Linked DNA regions of Homo sapiens: region 2 is linked to region 1. Evidence: promoter capture Hi-C in human tissues and cell types (Jung and others, 2019). All regions are on one chromosome and are shown on one strand. The core of a region is centred on a gene start or on the middle of the fragment in contact, and the rest is flanking DNA. Distances in the headings are between cores, read along the strand shown. Region 1 holds the start of NPY (neuropeptide Y). Region 2 has its middle 150 kb from the start of STK31.

What was found. Contacts are between HindIII fragments. The study calls those that stand out against the background at their distance.
Region 2: a fragment that was not itself captured here is called in contact with the fragment with the promoter of NPY in region 1 in 1 of the 25 tissues and cell types used here (H1 embryonic stem cells).

Annotation. Positions count from the first base shown.
Region 1 is chr7:24,281,414-24,286,848 of GRCh38, reverse strand. It overlaps NPY (neuropeptide Y), which reads right to left and starts at 2,659. Exons shown (of 4, transcript NM_000905.4): 1 at 2,574-2,659; 2 at 1,421-1,608. The coding sequence starts at 1,608. All of the region lies in intron 2 of LOC107986777 (a long non-coding RNA gene), which reads left to right. The HindIII fragment of the contact is 14,633 bases long and covers 1-5,435 here.
Region 2 is chr7:23,855,941-23,861,000 of GRCh38, reverse strand. No RefSeq gene overlaps it. Among named protein-coding and RNA genes, the nearest start is that of STK31, 150 kb to the right of the region's middle. The HindIII fragment of the contact is 3,274 bases long and covers 253-3,526 here.

The DNA.
Region 1 (5,435 bases), core at 1,410-3,909:
TAATATCTTTTTGTTTGTACAAGTTCTCTTTGATCTGCATGACGGCATAACATAGCAAGAATTTGAATCAATTAACTTTCTGGGAAGTATGGAATATAAAATATTATTGCTTTTTGCTAATTAAAATGATCAGATTTCAAGGGATCACAAACAACTACTATTTAATTCTGGCATTTTCATGTTTTTCAGATTCTATATAAATTGGGGCTTTTTCAAAAGTGTTTTAGGATGTTAAATACCTTTTTGATGAAACAGGAAAAAGCAAACTTTATTTTAAAAGTATAAATCTTCCCCCCTTTTGGATCCTTTCCAACTACTCCCTGACTTGTAAACAGTAAAAATATGGACTAAATAAATAAATATATAAACCCCACAATACTTTAAACATATAATTTAAACATGTTAACTAACATTAATGCTTCTAAAGGGCTTATCCTTTAGATACGGTCAAATGACTAAAATCATTTAATCTCAGTAATTAAAATAAGATATTAAATGATTTAGAACTAAGATCAACCAATTTTGAAAACAAAATTTAAATCCTATGTAATTTGTAAAATAGTTTGGATTTGATTTTTCCCTTAATTGTCAATGTTGAGAGTGAAAATATGGCATTTCATTTTGACTTTCGGAATGTTCAGAATAAAGTTTACAATTTCTCAGATTCCATGTAATCCCTGAATTCATCCTAAAGTTACTGGACCAACGTAAGTTTCTTCTTAATGAAATACCAAGTGGGCACTTTCTTTTCAGAATTCACCAGCTATAAAATAGGGAGACCTCTGCATTTTAGATAAACTGTTTTCAGGCTAAATCTCTAATTATTGGGACTAGAATTTTCAAATATGGGAGTGAGACTGCAAAAAAAACACAGTGAAGAAGAAAAGAAAATAGCTCTATTTGTCTTTTTCTAAATACTGTCATTCAATTAGCCCTGGGCAGGCCGGAAAGTCTGACAATGTCTGTGGCAACCCTGCAGTTTACTCCTTGGTTTGGTTTTCTTTGGTGGTCGTTCTGTTTCTCCTAGACACCTTGCTAGCGTTTCCCCCTACAGCATTTCTCTGGCGCATTCTTGCCCCTTTCACTGGGTACTTTCGAGATTTCTGGACCGGGCCCCACTGCCGTAAGAACCACAACAAACCATAAGAGGTGAGTGAGAGGAGATTGCCAGCCTACCAGCCTGGGGAACCTGAATCTGGGGATCACGACTCTGTGACTGTAGTTGCACAAAATGGAAGGTACCCATTTTGTGTAGAGTGTGCCCTGTACAAACATTTACCTAGAGCTGACTAAGTGCCTGATACTGTCCTGCCCTGGGATAGAGCGAAGGAAAAGAAACAATCCCTTTCCCTAACATCCCCAGGATCTCCTGGTGTGCAGGCACTGGCGCTCCCGGAATCGGTCCCGCGGTCCCACCCACCTCTGCCTGGTGATGAGGTTGATGTAGTGTCGCAGCGCCGAGTAGTATCTGGCCATGTCCTCCGCTGGTGCGTCCTCGCCCGGGTTGTCCGGCTTGGAGGGGTACGCCTCGGCCAGCGCACCCAGGCACACGAGCAGGGACAGGGCGAGGGTCAGTCCGGACAGCCCCAGTCGCTTGTTACCTAGCATCTGCAGGCACAGAAGGCTCAACGGACGGGCTTGGGGATTCAGAGCACCCACGCGCAGCACCTCCCTCCTCTGCCCCCCGCGCTCCTCCTCCTGCTACCACACGCGACCCCCAATCCGCTCTCGTCCCAGTCCCGCAGAGAGAACCCAGGAGTGGCTAGCACCACCTTGCGGGCTCCGGGCGCCGTCCGGTCGGGACCTGCCCCTCTGCTCCACCTGAAAACTTCGCGCAACTTCGTTCGAAGTCTCAGGGACCAAGAAGCGCGCGGCGAGAGTGCAAGGTGGGGGCCCCGCCAGTTTAGCATTCAAAACCGAATTGGAAGTTCTTCCTGCTGGGTCACTTTTCTCCCTTCTTGCCCAAACTCTTGTCTGGGAAGAAAAGTTTCTTCTCTGTTACTTCTGGTCTGCCTAGCTTCAGGGGATCAACGCTGACAGCAGAGATCACCTCGGGGTGACGACTGCGGTGGGGAAGGGGAAAGAGAATTGCTCCCTGGGCCAGAATTGCTCCAAAGAGATTTGGAGCCCAAGAATCCAGGGAGGTGGCAGGGCGCGGGGCTCTAGAGCTCCAGGGATTCCTCACTCGATGGCGCTGCCGGGGAAACCTTCCTACCGCGCACCGCTTCCTGGGCCTCAAGGCGGCGACCCGCAGGGAGACCGCCAGCTGCCTTGGGATAGCGGTCCCGGGTTCTCCCTCCATATCTGCTAAAAGGTAACTCAGAAGAACCGCCCAGCGGGAAGGGCCCGGGAGAAGGGCCGTGGACAATCAGAGGGGAGCAGAGGAACAAGTGGAATTTAGCCGCCAAGAGGGCTGGTCCGCGTCGGGGCGCGGAGCCGGCATAGTCCGCTGGGGAGTGGAGCGCGATCATCCCAGGGCCCCAGGGCTCCACAGAGCGGGAGGCTGCGTCTCTAGCAAGTTCGCGGGCGCCCCGTTCGCTCCCACCCCTAGACAGACGGGTCGTAGCACTCACGGTGGCTGGCGCGCGGGCGTGGCTGGGCGGCAAGTACTATGCTGTCGGGCGAGCGTCTCCGAGGGGTGAGAGCCAGCGGATGGGGTGCAGAGAGCGGGTCGCGACAGGGCTTTTATGGAGCTTCCTCGCCGCGGCAGGAGGGGCCTCGGGCAGTCACGCTTGGGTGACTCCCACCCGCCACTTCCCGCCCCTGAGTGGCGGGGGGAGGGGGCTGGAACCGCAGCCGCACGAGTGTCGACTTAGGGAGCCACCCACACCCCAACCCTCCCGCCCCAGGCACTGCCTGAAGAAGCGGGGCCTGGGACCGCGTGAGCGAGGCAGCGCACTCCGAGCGCGCTGGACAACACCAAAGCCCAAGTATCTGCCCTCGGGCAGTGCCCGATCCCTGCTTTCCTTCTTTCCTTCTTTCCTTCACGCCCCGTCTAGTCCTGCCAGAGATAGGAGCAGCCCAGACGATTCTTGTCTCCTGCCAACAGGACTACCAACCCACTGGGTGCCGGAGTAGGAAGCACCTGAATCCTCTTTGTGGTGGGGCATCTCCACGACTAGCGCGGCATCCTCGCCGGGCACAACTGCGCGCTGTTGGAGTGAGGCAACTGGGCGCACAGATTTTTCCTGTACTTAGAACAAGTCGGAGGCAGCTGCCGGAAGTCTCCGGCTAGAGGGTCCCAAAGCTGCGCTCCCCACCCCACCCCCGCCCGTGGTTTCAGGGGCTTCTGCCCCTTCTCTCAGCTGGTTTTTCTAGATCAGCCTTCCTCAAGTACTCGCTCAGACGCAGCGAGCCAGGCTCGGTCGAGACATGAGTGTGGCGACTCAAAATTCCCCAGAGGGGGAACACGGTAAACCTATTCCCCCAGTTTGCTGAAAAAGAGCCACGCTTCCAGCTTCTAGAGACTCTTTTAAGCTCAATTTTAAAAATATATATTTTTTCTTTTTTGGTCCAAAGTGACGGTGGTTAAATGAACAACAGTTTCTGTCTTATTTACTAACCCTTGTATAGTCCTATGTACGTTCAATTAACGTTGAGAATGTGGGTTCTGATTAAGATGAAACATGTTAAAAACGATGAACATTAATTTGCTCATCGCGTTAAACCTGTTGAATGAATATGCAAGATACAGAAACTATTATTACAGGATCAAGATTTTATGCAGTGGACTGAGATCTGAAAGTTCCGTGAATGAATGCTCCTGTATCTTTCTAAATAAAATGGCATTTTATTTCTAAATGAAATATAAGTCTGAATCTTTCTAAATAAAAAGGCATGTTGGGAAATTAAAGCATTAAGTTCCATGTTATTTTAATGCTAAAAGGACAAGTGATTCTGTTAAACTGACACTTAGTTTTTGTGCTGTTCCAACAGCATTGAATTAAATATCAAAAACCGTGAAGCAAACAATCCTTTGCATGTATGTGTTTGTGTGTTTGTGGGATCAAACTATAATTTTGGAGACCAACATCCCTTTCACTTGGCAACTGCTTCTCTTTCTGTATTACACAAACATATGCTGAGGACACAAAAATCAAGGCTCTCAGAGTTGCTCGGGGGTGCTTACAAGACACAGCCTTCGGTAAAAGTGCAAAACATCTTCTAACTTAGAGCTCTTCCTAGATAAAGGGAAAGTTACAGTCCACTTTTCAATAAAATAATCTTATTTTAGAGTGTATCACAGATTCATATCAATTAAAATCTGAACTTAAAATGTATCACTGAATTTGGGAAAAATTACTTCTAGGAAGGCCCACACCACTATTGAGAGAAGAACACTGTGGAGGCTTGATTAATTTAGCTTAAGATAATGTCATTGATTCTCAAGAATAAGAACTTATTCTGAGGGTTAAGGATTCAGAGAATAAAAAATAGGGGGTGATATGCCCTACATGTGCTTACATCCTTATCTCCTTTCTCTCCAGTCCAAGCCACATCCCCTGGCCAAAATACAAACAAAACCAACTGTTGGCAACTCAACCCTGCATCTTCTCCTAGCTGCTGAGCCATTTCTCTCCTTTGTTTCAAAGTCAAGTTGTTTATTTCTAACAGCTTTGTTAAGATAACATTGAGATACTGTTGAGCTTGTTGAGATTCAAAAGGAGGTGAATCAGTGGAGACTAGAGAAGGTAATGACCGAGAGAAGTCAAATAACCGGTAAAGGTCCATGTGGTTTGCAATTAGGAGGTCTTACTGATAGCAGGTTCATAGCTTGATTCAGATAGAACCTGGACCACATGAAACCCAGTGGTTTCATGACTAAACCTAAGGTAAAGAAGCAGAAGGAATGAATAGATACTGCTGAATATATACAAAGCTACAAATGTGTAAAATATTCAATTGGATATATTCTTACACATATGCATGTGTGTTATATGCTCAGGAAGCCATCACTGAAACCAAGAAAATGAAGATTATACATCACTTCCCCAAATTTCCACATGTACCTTTGTAATTCCTTCCTTTTGCCTCTTCCTCACCCCCTCCTCCATTGATCTGCTATCACTAGAGATTTGTTTGCGTTTTCTAGAATTGCACATAAATATAGTTCCACGGTAGGTACTCTTTGTCTGACTTCTTTCACTTAGCATCATTATTTTTGAATCCACTCACATTGTTAAATGTAGCAATAGTTTATTCTTTTTTATTGCTGGGCAGTATTTCATTATATGATATACTTCAAAATTTTTAATCAATTCTACTGCTCATGAATTTTTGGTTATTTTCACTTGAAACTTTTACGAATAAAGCTGCCTTGACATTCATATGCAAGTCTTTGTATGGACATAAAGCCTTTAATTCTCTTGGAAAATACTTAAAACCAGAATGGCTGAGTCAGACGGTGAGTGTATATTGGCCCACAGTTTGTTGGT
Region 2 (5,060 bases), core at 640-3,139, 430 kb after region 1:
ATTATAGGGGGGACTATCTGGAATTTTAGGATCCCTCCTCAGACTAGCAGGCCTAACAAAAGCTATTCTTGAAGCTAGGATGTGGGGAGCTTCAGAAATGGTATCTTTCCTATTCACATAAGTGAGAACAAAAGGTATCACTCTTTCAACCCTGGAGATCCCTTCCCTCCCTCTGGGTATGACCCTCCACTTCATTTTTTGGAAATAACATCTTTATAGGTCAGTGGTAAGGTCCCAATACTAACAGGAAAATGCTTAGGACTCTAACAGGTTTTTGAGAATGTGTCAGTAAGGGCCACTAAATCCAACCTTCCTTGGGCCTCCTTGGGGTCTAGGAGGAAAAACTAGTGTTTCTGCTGCTGTGTCGGTGAGTGCAACTATTCTGATCAGCAGGGTCCAGGGACCATTGCAGGTTCTTAGGCAAGAGGTGTTTCTGCTGCTGCATCGGTGAGCACAACTATTCCAATCAGCAGGGTCCAGGGGCTGCACCATTGTGGGTTATTGGGCAAGAGGTGTTTCTGCTGCTTCATTGGTGAGTGCAACTATTCTGATCAGCAGGGTCCAGGGACCATTGCGGGTTCTTAGGCAGGGGGAGAAACAAACAAACCAAAACCGTGGGCAGTTTTGTCTTTCAGATGGGAAACACTCAGGCATCAACAGCTCACCCTTGAAATGCATCCTAAGCCATTGGGACCAATTTGACCTGCAAATCCTGAAAAAGAGGCAGCTCATTTTTTTCTGCACTATGGCTTGGCCCCAGTATTCTCTCTGATGGGGAAAAATGGCCACCTGAGGGAAGTATAAATTACAACACTATCCTGCAGTCTGACGTTTTCTGTAAGAGGGAAGGCAAATGGAGTGAAATACCTTATGTCCAAGCTTTCTTTTCATTGAAGGAGAATCCACAACTATGCAAAGCTTGTAATTTACATCCACAGGAGGACCTCTCAGCTTACCCCCATATCCTAGCCTCCCTATAGCTCCCCTTCCTATTAATGATAAGCCTCCTCTAATCTCCCCTGCCCAGAAGGAAACAAGCAAAGAAATCTCCAAAGGACTAGAAAAACCCCTGGGCTATCAGTTATGTCCCCTTCAAGTTGTAGGAGGAGGGGAACTTGGCCCAACCCAGGTACATGTCCCCTTCTCCCGCTCTAATTTAAAGCAGGCAGACCTAGGGCAGTTTTCAGATGATCCTGATAGGTACAGAGATGTGCTACAGGGTCTAGGGCAAACCTTCAATCTCATTTGGAGAGATGTCATGCTATTGTTAGATCAAACCCTGGCCTTTAATGAAAAGAATGCGGCTTTAGCTGCAGCCCAAAAGTTTGGAGATACCTGGTATCTTAGTCAAGTAAATGACAAAATGACAGCCGAAAAAAGGGAAAATTCCCTACCGGTCAGCAAGCCATCTCCATACTGGGACCTCAACTCAGATCATGAGGACTGGAGTCGTAAACATCTGTTGACCTGTGTTCTAGAAGGACTAAGGAGAATTGGGGAAAACCCATGAAATACTCAATGATGACTACCATAACTCAGGGAAAGCAAGAAAATCCTTCTGCCTTCCTCGAGCTGCTACAGGAGGCCTTAAGAAAATATACTCCCCTGTCACCCGACTCACTCGAGGGTCAGTTGATTCTAAAAGATAAGTTTATTACCCAATCAGCCGCAGACATCAGGAGAAAGCTCCAAAAGTGAGCCCTGGGCCCTGAACAAAATCTGGAGGCATTATTAAACCTGGCAACCTTGGTGTTCTATAATAGGGACTAAGAGGAATGGCCCAAAAGGAAAAGCGAGATCAGAGAAAGGCCACGGCCTTAGTCATGGCCCTCAGACAAACAAACCTTGGTGGTTCAGAGAGGACAGAAAATGGAGCAGGCCAATCACCCGGTATGGCTTATCAGTGTGGGTTACAAGGACACTATAAAAAAGATTGTCCAATGAGAAACAAGCCACACCCTTGTCCATGTCCGCTATGCCAAGGCAATCACTGGAAGGTGCACTGCCCCAGAGTGCAATGATTCTCTGGGCCAGAAGCCCCCAACCAGATGATCCAACAACAGGACTGAGGGTGCCCAGGGCAAGCACCAGCTCATGTCATCACCCTCACTGAGCCCCAGGTATGTTTAACCATTGAGGGCCAGGAAATTGACTTCCTCCTGGACACTGGCACGGCCTTCTCAGTGTTAATCTCCTATCCTGGACAACTCTCCTCAAGGTCTGTTACCATCCGAGGAATCCTGGGACAGCCTGTAACCAGGTATTTCTCCCACCTTCTCAGTTGTAATTGGGAGACTTTGCTCTTTTCACATGCCTTTCTTGTTATGCCTGAAAGTCCCACACCCTTATTAGGGAGGAATATATTAGCCAAAGCTGGAGCTATTATTACATGAATATAGGGAACAAGTTACCCATTTGTTGTCCCCTACTTGAGGAGGGAATCAACCCTAAAGTCTGGGCATTGGAAGGACAATTTGGAAGGGAAAAAATGCCCGCCCAGTCCAAATCAGGCTAAAAGATCCCACCACTTTTCTTTATCAAAGGAAATATCCCTTAAGGCCTGAAGCTCATAAAGGATTACAGAATATTGTTAAACATTTAAAAGCTCAAGGCTTAGTAAGGAAATGCGGCAGTCCCTGCAACACCCCAATTCTAGGAGTACAAAAACCGAACAGTCAGTGGAGACTAGTGTAGGATCTTAGACTCATCAATGAGGCAGTAATTCCTCTATATCCAATTGTACCCAACCCCTATACCTTTCTCTCTCAAATACCAGAGGAAGCAGAATGGTTCACTGTTCTGAACCTCAAGGATGCCTTCTTCTGTATTCCCCTGCACTCTGACTCCCAGTTTCTCTTTGCCTTTGAGGATCCCACAGACCACATGTCCCAACTTATGTGGACGGCTTGCCCCAAGGGTTTAGGGATAGCCCTCATCTGTTTGGTCAGGCACTAGCCCAAGATCTAGGCCACTTCTCAAGTCCAGGCACTCTGGTCCTTCAGTATGTGGATGATTTACTTTTGGCTACCAGTTCGGAAGCCTCATGCCAGCAGGCTACTCTAGCTCTCTTGAACTTTCTAGCTAATCAAGGGTACAAGCGTCTAGATCGAAGGCCCAGCTTTGCCTACAGCAGGTCAAATATCTATGCCTAATCTTAGCCAGAGGGACCAGGGCCCTCATCAAGGAATGAATACAGCCTATACTGGCTTATCCTCACCTTAAGACATTTAAACAGCTGCAGAGGTTCCTTGGAATCACCAGCTTTTGCTGACTATGGATCCCTGGATACAGCGAGATAGCCAGGCCTCTCTATACTCTAATCAAGAAGACCCAGAGGGCAAATACTCATCTAGTGGAATGGGAACCAGAGGCAGAAACAGCCTTCAAAACTTTAAAGCAGGCCCTAGTACAAGCTCCAGCTTTAAGCCTTCCCACAGGACAAAACTTCTCTTTATATGTCACAGAGAGAGCAGGGATAGCTCTTGGAGTCCTTTCTCAGACTCGCGGGACAACTCCACAACCAGTGACATAACCTAAGTAAGGAAACTGATGTAGTAGCAAAAGGCTGGCCTCACTGTTTACAGGTAGTTGCAGCTGTGGCCGTCTTAGTGTCAGAGGCTATCAAAATAATACAAGGAAAGGATCTCACTGTCTGGACTACTCACGATGTAAATGGCATACTAGGTGCCAAAGGAAGTTTATGGCTATCAGACAACCACCTGCTTAGATATCAGGCGCTATTCCTTGAGGGACTGGTGCTTCACATACACATATGTGCAGCCCTCAACCCTGCCACTTTTCTCCCAGAGGATGGGGAACCAATTGAGCATAACTGCCAACAAATTATAGTCCAGACTTATGCCACCCGAGATGATCTCTTAGAAGTCCCCTTAGCTAATCCTGACCTTAACCTATATACTGACGAAAATTCATTTGTAGAGAATGGGATACAATGGGCAGTTTATGCCATAGTTAGTGATGTAACCATACTTGAAAGTAAGCCCCTTCCCCCAGGGACCAGTGCCCAGTTAGCAGAACTAGTGGAACTTACCTGAGCCTTAGAACTGGGAAAGGGAAGAAGAATAAACGTGTATAGAGATAGCAAGTATGCTTATCTAATCCTACATGCCCATGCTGCAATATGGAAAGAAAGGGAGTTCCTAACCTCTGGGGGAACCCCCATTAAATACCACAAGGAAATCATGGAGTTATTGCATGTGGTGCAAAAACCCAAGGAGGAGGTGGCAGTCTCACACTGCTGAAGCCATCAAAAAGGGGAAGGAGAGGAGAAAACAGCAGCATAAGTGGCTGGCAGAGGCTGGGAAAGACCAGCAGAAAGGAAAGACAGAAAGAGACAGAAAGAGAGAAAGAGGAAGAGACAGAGACAAAGGAGGAAAAAAGAGAGAGGAAGAGACAGACAGACAGAAAGTCAAAGACAGAAGGAGAGAGAGAGAGGAAGAGACAAAGAGGGAGTCAGAGAGAGAGAAAGAGAGAGACAGAAAGTCAAAGACAGAGGAAGAGACAGACAAAGGGGAGTCAGAGAGAGATAAAGAAGTCAAAGAGAAACAAAGATGGAAGTAGTAAAGAAAAAACAGTGTACCGTATTCCTTTGACAGCCAGGGTAAACTTAAAACCTGTAATTCATAATTGAAGGTCTTCTCTGTGACCCTATAACACTCCAATACCACCTTGTTGTCAGTGTAAACAAGGGCATAGCCCAAAAGCACTGAGGCCACTGACAACCTGTAGCCTTCCTATCAAAAATCCTTAACCTAGCAGGTTTCCTAACAGGGGATCTAAATCTTAATTAATTACCATACAAAGGTCCAACCAGACCTAGGAGGAACTGTCTTCAGGACAGGACTATAGATGCTTCCTCCCAGGCGATTAAGGGAAAAAGACACAATGGGTATTCAGTAAGTGATAAGGAAACTCTTGTAGAAGCAGAGTTAGGAAAATTGCCTAATAATTGGTCTGCTCAAATGTGCGAGCTGTTTGCACTCAGCCAAACCTTAAAAGTATTTACAGAATCAGGAAGAAGCCATCTATACCAATTCTAA